2 separate regions of the Homo sapiens genome follow, and region 2 is linked to region 1. Evidence: promoter capture Hi-C in 16 types of primary human blood cells and fetal thymus (Javierre and others, 2016). All regions are on one chromosome and are shown on one strand. Each heading gives the region's core, a stretch centred on a gene start or on the middle of the fragment in contact. The rest is flanking DNA. Distances are from core to core; before and after follow the strand shown. Region 1 holds the start of RAB6B (RAB6B, member RAS oncogene family). Region 2 overlaps SRPRB (SRP receptor subunit beta).

Evidence for each region. The method cuts DNA at HindIII sites, captures the fragments that hold promoters and counts their contacts. A CHiCAGO score of 5 or more calls a contact.
Region 2: a fragment that was not itself captured here is called in contact with the fragment with the promoter of RAB6B in region 1 in 1 of 17 cell types (erythroblasts); the score reaches 5.4 in erythroblasts.

Annotation. Positions count from the first base shown.
Region 1 is chr3:133,894,632-133,899,355 of GRCh38, reverse strand. RAB6B (RAB6B, member RAS oncogene family) reads left to right here and starts at 3,474. Exons shown (of 8, transcript NM_016577.4): 1 at 3,474-3,959. The coding sequence starts at 3,890. RefSeq lists a silencer at 3,455-3,504. The HindIII fragment of the contact is 7,968 bases long and covers 1-4,724 here.
Region 2 is chr3:133,810,861-133,815,419 of GRCh38, reverse strand. It overlaps SRPRB (SRP receptor subunit beta), which reads right to left. Exons shown (of 7, transcript NM_001379313.1): 4 at 4,221-4,303. Among named protein-coding and RNA genes, the nearest start is that of SRPRB, 7.3 kb to the right of the region's middle. The HindIII fragment of the contact is 9,216 bases long and covers 1-4,559 here.

The DNA.
Region 1 (4,724 bases), core at 2,225-4,724:
AGGATATACAGATCTGTCTTTTTTTTTTTTCCTGTTTGTGAATCTACAATGATCTCAAAAATTTAATTTAAATATATATATATATATATATAACACAGCAAAGGGCTCAGGAAAACCAAGATCTTGAAGAAAATGAAAAATATAGATGATGCTGTAGTGCTATATGATCTAACGAATATCTTTGAAAAATAGTTTGGCACAAAATTAAACGTACACTTGTTTTTATACCACAATTTACCTACTGACACATATCTTAGAAAAACTTCACAGAGGCATCAAGAGACATGTAAAGAATGTTGATGGCAGCATTGTTTGTTAATAGCAGAAACAAAACTGAGTGCATTTTCCAATGTTAATTTCCTGGTTTTACTAAGCAATGTGGTTATGTAAGATGTTATCACTGGGGTAGCTTGGTGCAGGATACATAGTAACTCCCTGCACTGTTTTTTATAACCTCTATGTGAGTATAAAATTATTTAAAATAATTTTAAAAAAGGCCAGGCGTGGTGGCTCACACCTGTAATCCCAGCACTTTGGGAGGCTGATGCAGGCGGATCACGAGGTTAAGAGATTGAGACCATTCTGGTCAACATGGTGAAACCTCGGCTCTACTAAAAATAAAAAAATTAGCTAGACCTGGTGGTGCGTGGCTGTAGTACCAGCTACTCGGGAGGCTGAGGCAGGTGAATTGCTTGAACCTGGGAGGCGGAGGTTACAGTGAGCCGAGATGGCGCCGCTACACTCCAGCCTGGTGACAGACCAAGACTCCATCTCAAAAATAATAACAACAATAATAAAATAAAATAAAATAAAAATTTTAAATGACACATTTTACAGAAAATCATTTAAAAATTGGGGCATAACTAGAATACTAACCAGCAGTGAAAATGAAAGAACTGCTGCTACATGAATTAACAAATGGATCTCAGAAACATGATGTTAAGAAACATGCAAGTCAGGACAGAAAACACAGTTTGATACCTTATATAAGATTCAAAAGATGCAAAACAAAACAAAGTATTGTGAAGGACACATCCAATGTGATAAAACTCAAAGAAAAGCTAAGATTCTGGATTTCCAAGTTGGGGAGGGAGGAAGGAGAAGAAAGCACCTGGGGGCCTGAAAAGTACTATAATATTTGAGCCCTCCAGCTGTGTAGAGGGTAAATGGGCACTCAGAGTGATAGGTTTTCTTTGTAACTTACATATACACAGCACATACTAAATAGGAAGATTTAAAGAATTTTTTTAAATGGAATGCACAGATTCTATGATATGGAAGAAACTCTTTCTAGTGAGGTTGCCAGGCTGAGGTTCAGTGGCCCCATTTTCCACCTGGAGAAAGTCTGTCTGCTTTAGGGCAGGTTAAGGACAAGACTCAAAATCAGGGGAGATAAGCAATGATAGTTGGAGGAGAGAGACTTGGAGCAGAGCAAACTTGGAGTCTCTAAGGCTCTCATTTCCACAGCATGATGACTGCATTCTGAGAGCAATGCCAGTATCTGCTCCAGCGACGTGAGCCCGGTAGTCGGAGCCGGGTTTTTGTCATTTGAACTGGAAGAATTATGACAGAGTCCCCCAAAGTAAGCTGGACCATAGTCAGCCCAGCTGGACCTGGTAAGCATATGGGATGACTTGGAGGCTTAGAGGTGCCCAGAGGGGCCCTGCCCCAGCCCTCCCTCCCCTACTGCCATACCACCTTACATGTGCGGGACCAGATGATCAGAGGAGGTACAGGACCTGCCTAGGCTTACCCAAAAGATGGTGCCTTTTCTGGCACACCTCAGCTGTTTTGTCTTGCCACCGATGATCTCATCAGGTCAGGATGAGAGGGTACAGGGAGACAGCACTAGATGTTAGGAGAAGGTGCAGGTTGGAGGAGTGTTGCATGGCTGGGTACCTTGGCCAGTAGCTCACTGGCCCTTCTTTGGAGGGATCACTTATAGAGACGGGAAGGGCTGTGACTTGGGAGTCTCCTCTCCTTTCAGAGCTTTCTTCAACCCCAAGCTGGATATGGTCTCCTAAGAGAGCAGGAGCCCCAGAGAAGTGGGTGGGTGTCTGGAGGGTTACCCTGAGCCTGGTGCCAGCCACAACGGGGCAGATATTCTAGGTGATGACTTACAATCCCTGGGGTTCCAAACTAAAGGTAATTATGAGAATAGGACAGTTATTTTGATTTGAGTTCTAGATGTTCATTCAAACATTCAACAACTATTTCTTAAACTCTGAGCTATGTCCTTGGGATGCAGTGGTGGAGCTTCAACTACTGCTTTTATGGAACTTGTGGTCAGGTTTCTAACAAGAAATAGGAAAGAGATTCGAGGTGAGCACACCAGGGAGACAGATAGGCTTGCCCAAGCAAGCCCCATAAGTCAAAAAGGGGGTAACAAGTGTCCACGAGAAATCTGGAGGTGAAGGTTGTGTCTCACTCCTCTTTCTCTTTCTATAACACATGCGTGCACACACCATCGTGTTCACCGACATGCAGATTATTATCTCAAATAAATGCTCACTGAACAGCCATAAATGAACAAGACCACGCTGTGGCAGAACAGTAAGGGACAGCTTTGTAAAACCTCAATTAACCAGCATGCCTTAGGCTCGGGCTGTCTTGGGAGTGTTTCTAGCACTTGGCGTCTGCTCTTTGCTCTCACTCACTCACAACTTGGTCTGTGTGCCTCGATGGACCAGGCAAGTAGAGGCCAAGGAGAGGTCGCCCACATGTCCTCAGATAGCTCATTGTCCAGATACACCTAATTGCCAGGGTGGGGAGTGGCATTGTCAGCCTGGCGACCCCGGGATCAAGAAACGCAGGGCACTGTCCTGGAGATAGTGGCACTGGCATTCAGAGCGTCACCGTTCCTTCTCTCCCATGGGGCAGGTTAGGATTTGGCATAAAATGATCCAAATGAGCAGCTGGTTTGAGGTAGGCGCGCCTGATATTGGCAGCTCCTCTCTCGCTGGCCAGGTCTGCGGGGGCACCCACAGACTCCACAAGAGGCCGCCCAAATAAAGGGTCTAGGCCTCGAGAGGGAAGGGCGGGCTAGAAGCCACGGGGGGCAAGAGTCGAGCCCCATCTGCGCCAAGTACGCCAGGTTTCCCTAGGTCTGACCGCCCTGACGGGCCTCGCCACACCCTGGCTCTCCCCCACCTTCGTTCCTTTCCGCCCTGTCGGTCGGACGACTGCGCTGTGCATCGGTGTCTCGCGAGGTGGAGGAAGGGACTGGCATCTAGGTTTAAAAGACCAGAAACAAATGTCCCCTGACAATTTCTGTCATTTTCTGGATTCAAAAGAGGGGTAGAGTGGGGAAGACAGACGCAGCGGGGCAGCGAGACACGGTCCCCCCCGGGGGGCTCTCAGGGGTACGGCGAGGAGGTTCTCTCCTGCCCGGGTGCGGGCTCGGGTGGGCGGGCGCACGCCCCCCAGCCCCGCAGCCCCGCGGGCCCCGCATGACATCAGAGGCTGGGGAGCGCACAGAGCGCAGGCGCCGGCGGAGGAGGCAGGCGGGAGGGGGCCGACTGGCGCGGCTCTGGAGAGCGCTCCTCCGCCCCGCGCGCCGTCCCTGCGCCCCGCTCCGCCCGCGCCTCTCTCCCAGCGCCGCGCCTCGGGCGTAAAGAGCGCGCCCCTCGCACCGCAGCCAGTGCCGACCGCAGCAGCCCAGCCCCAGCCTTCCTCCGCCTCCGCCTCTCTCTCCTCCTCCTCCTCCGCCGCCGGACACGCAGCCGCAGGCCGGGACCGGGACGCAGCTGGGGAGTCAGGGACGCGCGCAGCCAGCCCTTCCCCCTCCGGCTCCCGCACCGCCGGCCGCCTCCCCTCGCCCTCCTACTCTCCCCTCCCTGCTCCTTCGCTTTTTCCTCCTCCTCCTCTCCCGGCCCCGGCTGCCAGCACCATGTCCGCAGGGGGAGATTTTGGGAATCCACTGAGAAAATTCAAGTTGGTGTTCTTGGGGGAGCAGAGCGGTAAGTACCCGGCTTAATCTCTTGGCTTGTCGCCGAGTCGACCCCCGCCGCCCAATCGCCCACCCCATTGGGACCCCCGGCCCAGGCTCGGAAAGGCCCCTCCTTGCCAGGGTAGAGGAGAGGGACAGGGATGGGGAGGTCGGGGCGGGGTCGGGCTGGGGAGGGGCCAAGGGTGAGGACGGAGGAGGCGCTGGAGCCTGGGGTGGAGGTGAGGGTGGGCTCTGGGTGGGGGGCCCGGGGTGTGGGTGCAGGTGCGGCGCTGCAGGGGGCCCGGAGGGCGGCGGCTGGCTCCGCGGCGCTGGCCAGGGCGTGAAGGAACCGGGCTCGCTGGCTAGCTCACACTGCGGCACCGGCTGCGGGCGACCGCGCAGGTGGCTGGGTGCTGGCGGGGGTGGGGAGAGCGACGGGCGCCCCCCTTGGAGAACGAAGCGAAGCTGGGGTCTGGCCGGGCCTCACTCCGCTGCACTGGAGGGGTGTTCCCTGCGGACCCTGCTGGGAACCATGCGAAAGGGCACGTCCAGGGCGTGGGACAAACAGCCACCGGGGAGAAAAGAGCGACACCTGTCTCTGCTCGAAAGAGCGAGTGCAGGCCATGGGGGAACGGGGAGCCTACCTCCCCTGGCTCACGTCCGACTGGGCACAGAAGGTTCTAGACCCGCTGCCCTTCGCCGGCGCTTGTTAGTCTCCTTGCTGCCCAGGGATCTGGGCAATTGCAGTGAGGGCTACCCCAACTCGAGGCGATTTGGGGAATGATACAGGGGCACC
Region 2 (4,559 bases), core at 2,060-4,559, 84 kb after region 1:
GAACTATTGAGTGCTACTGTGTATCAATGACTGAAGCTGAAAAAAGACAGTAAGAAATGATGCCTGTCCTCCAAGACAAATCATCATATAGAGAACCATATGATAAATGCCAAGACAAAACTATGCACATGTGTAACAGGAATAAAGAGAAAGATCATTTAAATGAGACCAGGTCAAAGGCAACTTTAAGGAGAATGTAACAGTTGAGTTGAATCTTAGCTAGACCAAAAATTGGGGCACAGGCTGTCTGGAAAGTACAGGTTGAGTATCCCCAATCCAAAAATCCAAAGTCTAAAATCCAAAACACTTCTGGTTCCAAGCATTTTGGATAAGGGATACTCAGCCTACAGTATGTTCAAGCCACAAATACGTGAAACACATTCCCTGGGGAAGTCAAGGTAAGCTGGTACACAGGGAGATGGGGAAATGAAGGAGAACCAAGTCAGACAGTGAGGCGTGACACAATGACCTGTGGAGTTCATGCTTTTCTGTCTTATGAAGAATATTGGTGCCTAAATGGAAGACAAAGCAATCTTAGAGGGCGCTTGAACTAGAAGCACAGTGACCAGGTAGGGCCTGAACTAAGGCAGCCATAGTGGGACTCCTCATGTGACAGAAACAAAGAGATATCAAAGCTAAAGTGCAGCAGCCCAGGGAAACTGCAGACAACAGGTCTTAGGGGGCCGGGTGCGGTGGCTCACGCCTGTAATCCCAGCACTTTGGGGGGCCGAGACAGGCAGATCACTTGAGGTCAGGAGTTCGAGACAAGTCTGGGCAACATGATGAAACCCAATCTCTACTAAAAATATAACAATTAGCCAGATATGGTGGCGGGAGCCTGTAATCCCAGCTACTTGAGAGTCTGAGGCAGAAGAGTTACTTGAACCCAGAAGGCGAAGGTTGCAGTGAACTGAGATCATGCCACTGCACTCCAGCCTGGGTGACAAAGCGAAACTCCATCTCAAAGAAAACAAAAAAACAAAAAAACCGGCCAGGCGCGGTGGCTCACGCCTGTAATCCCAGCACTTTGGGAAGCCGAGGCGGGCGGATCACGAGGTCAGGAGATCGAGACCATCCTGGCTAACACGGCGAAACCCTGTCTCTCCTAAAAATACAAAAAATTAGCTTGGTGTGATGGCGGGTGCCTGTTGTCCCAGCTACTCAGGGGACTGAGGCAGGAGAATGGCGTAAACCTGGGAGGCAGAGCTTGCAGCGAGCCAAGATCGCGCCACTGCACTCCAGCCTGGGCAACAGAGCGAGACTCCGTCTCAAAAAAAAAAAAAAAAATACAAGCCTTATGGACAAGGGTTTGAATGCCCAGGTGGAGATAAGAGACATGCAATGGCCAACATGCAGCTGGGGAGCTAGAACTGAATGCCCTGCACAAAGCCTACAACTTAAAATAGTCTCAGGGAGGTCGGGGCTTGCAAAAAAAGTTCCCTTAGAAACAGCGGGCCTCCACTGCCTCACACAGATATAGGGTATGAATTTATACTCTCTCCAGGTGTAAGACCCCCAAGGGGAAAGGCTTACATAAAAATTGGGCCAGACTTATTGAAGCCCTATGGCCCCAACAGAAGGAACTATGAACCGCTTATGGAGCAAGGCTTTCATATCCTACGGGATTAAAGAACCACCACAATATCAATGATGTGTCACTCTTGAAGAAAGGTTCTGGAGCAAAAATTACAAGGCACAGAATAAAATAATTATGAGGGAGAATAACTGGTACCCCAAAGAGAATAATCAGCACCCCAAAACTAAGATAATAAAGCTATCTATAAAGTAAATGTTTAAAATTATTTAAGAAAATACTACAAACTACAATAAAAAATAGAATAGTATAAAAAGAAACAGGCTGGTTTGAAAAGGTAAGTATTTTAGACAAATATAGTAAATGATATTAATAAATCAATGGAAAAGTTAAGCAGAGATCATGCTCAGCTGAAAATAATGTAATAAACTAGAAAACAAATCTGAGGGAATCTTACAATATGCGAAGTAGAAAGATCTGGAAGATACGATAGAGAGGAAACAAGAAAGGCAAAAATAATAAGGTTCAATAACATTCATAAGAATTCCAGAGTGTGAGAAATGATCATGGGGAAACAGCACTACCTGGAGAAACGATGGTGAGAATTTTCCAAAACTGAGGAGAATCTTTGGTTTGGAATAGCACAACTGAATTCCAAGAATGATAAAGCTAAATCCATCCTTGAACAGAAGAAAATCTATCCCTGGATAGAAGGTCAAATCAGGCAGACTTACTACAGTGAAATGACAATTAGACTGACTGGCAAAAACATTCTCATCTGCAACAGATGGATGAGGTCAGGAGTGATGCGGCTGCCACCCAGGACTCTGCACTCAGCTAAAAGAGACATTCCAAAATGCTGGCCAAATAGAGTTACAAATGAACAAAGACTGAAAACATTTGACTACTCATCACCCTCTCTGGAAACACTTCTAAAAGATATACTCAGTGAGGGAAAACTGAATCTAAAGGGAAGAAGTAAAATTCAAGAAGCAATGGGGAGCAAAAGACCATAAGCATCCTGGTAATTCTCATCACTGAATGTAAGAGGAAAAAAAAGTATGGATGGGGGTTAAAAAGGAGCATAAATAAAAGGAAGATGTGAGGAAGATGAAAGTTAAAGTGTTTAAGGTTCAGGAAAAGGAAACTGATATTATTGGATTCAGACAATCAAATAGGCAATGTTTAAAAGATGGGGGAGGGGAACCATGATAAGAACAGCAACAGCATATGTTCAAATCAGGAGAGGGAAAATAGCCACTAGGGAAACTTGGCGAAGCCAGAAAGTAGGATTAAAAAAAAGTCACATACCAATATAGTAAATGTCTTTTCAACTTGCATGTTATCATGATTATAATTTATTTGAACTAAGTTTTATCTTCATATTTTGCATGTTTTATTTACCCAAAATACATGAATCACAGAGTAGTTATACTGCAAATCATAAAATATTTAGAACTGGCAATAGAAAAAGAAAAAACATTTAATTGGAAATAAAAACCCAATTATGGCAAAATTTACCAGCTCTAGATTTGTCTCAATTGTCCAAGGAATTTTCTTATCTGTGACAAATTGTTCATCACCACCATCTTGTGGGCAAAGATGCAATAATGAAATTTCAGTCTAGACATCTTCAATAAAAGGCAAAGAATCTACTACTTCATTCCATCAAAACTAAAATGCTGCCAATTAAAGACATTATTTTAGGGACCGCTAAGAGAAAATACTGCCAATTAAACTATGACACCATCAACTATAAGATATATTCTAAATTCAGAGATATTAAAATGTGTCTTCAAATCAGTGAAATGTGGCATACTGATTTTCCTCTTCAGTTCTTATTAATGTTAGAGACCAAAAAAGAAGCATCTGAAACTGCAGCATAAGACTTTTTAGGGAAGAACTTAAGAGTCAGTAACACCAGAGCACACACTAAAAGAAATATGGAAATATTGTTCTGTACTTCTTGAAACATCAATTTTACGTAATTTGAGAATATATATGGGCCAGGTGCAGTGGCTCACGCCTGTAATTCCAGCACTTTGGGAGGCTGAGGCCAGCGGATCATGAGGTCAGGAGTTCGAGACAAGCCTGGCCAACATGGTGAAACCCCATCTCTACTAAAATTATGAAAAATTAGCAGGGTGTGGTGGTGCGTGCCTGTAATCCCAGCTACTCAGGAGGCTGAGGCAGGAGAATCACTTGAACCCAGGAGGTGGAGGTTGCAGTGAGCCGAGATCACACCACTGCACTCCAGCCAGGACAACAGAGTGAGACTCCATCTCAAAAAAAAAAAACAAAAAAACACTATATATATAAATGATGTTGGCATTTAAAAACTGCTAGGATTCATCCCAGCTTTAAAATTCTTTTTTCAGATTTTAATAGTCATATACATTATTAAATTCACCTTCAGAATAAATGCAAACATTTAGTAACAATGACAAGAAGGGTTAACATTTCCTAAACACTAAAAAACACTTTTTAAGCATTTTAATCCCATAAAATCCTCATCATCCAGGTGAAGGTGGACTTGCAACCCAGAACTGGCTGACCCCAAGGTCACCTCAAGGTCTACCACAGGATACCATGCTGCCTCCCAAACACCACCAGAGCAAATCACATGAGTGGCTTTGATATACAGATACAGACCTAGACAAGCCCACTTCACTTCTTTCCTTCTTACCTGGCTGAAGACTTAAACCGCTCTAAGAACTGAAGCCTCAAACTCTCATGGCCGGGAAGGTCAATCAAGGTCAGACTATTGCCCTGGGGATGGCAGCAATAACATTAACGTTTCAATACAGTTCCACGTTCACAATATAAACCTTTAGTATCATATATTGGCTACCAAACTGGTACCTAATTAACCAAACAAATGTTCACAAAGCATCTTCTACTCATAAAACACTAGTCAACGTTCTGGGGATGTAACAGTGGCCAAAGACACGGTTCCTGATCTGGCAAAATTTATGAGAAAGGTGAACATAATGTAAAATTACACATAAATATAAAATGAGAACAC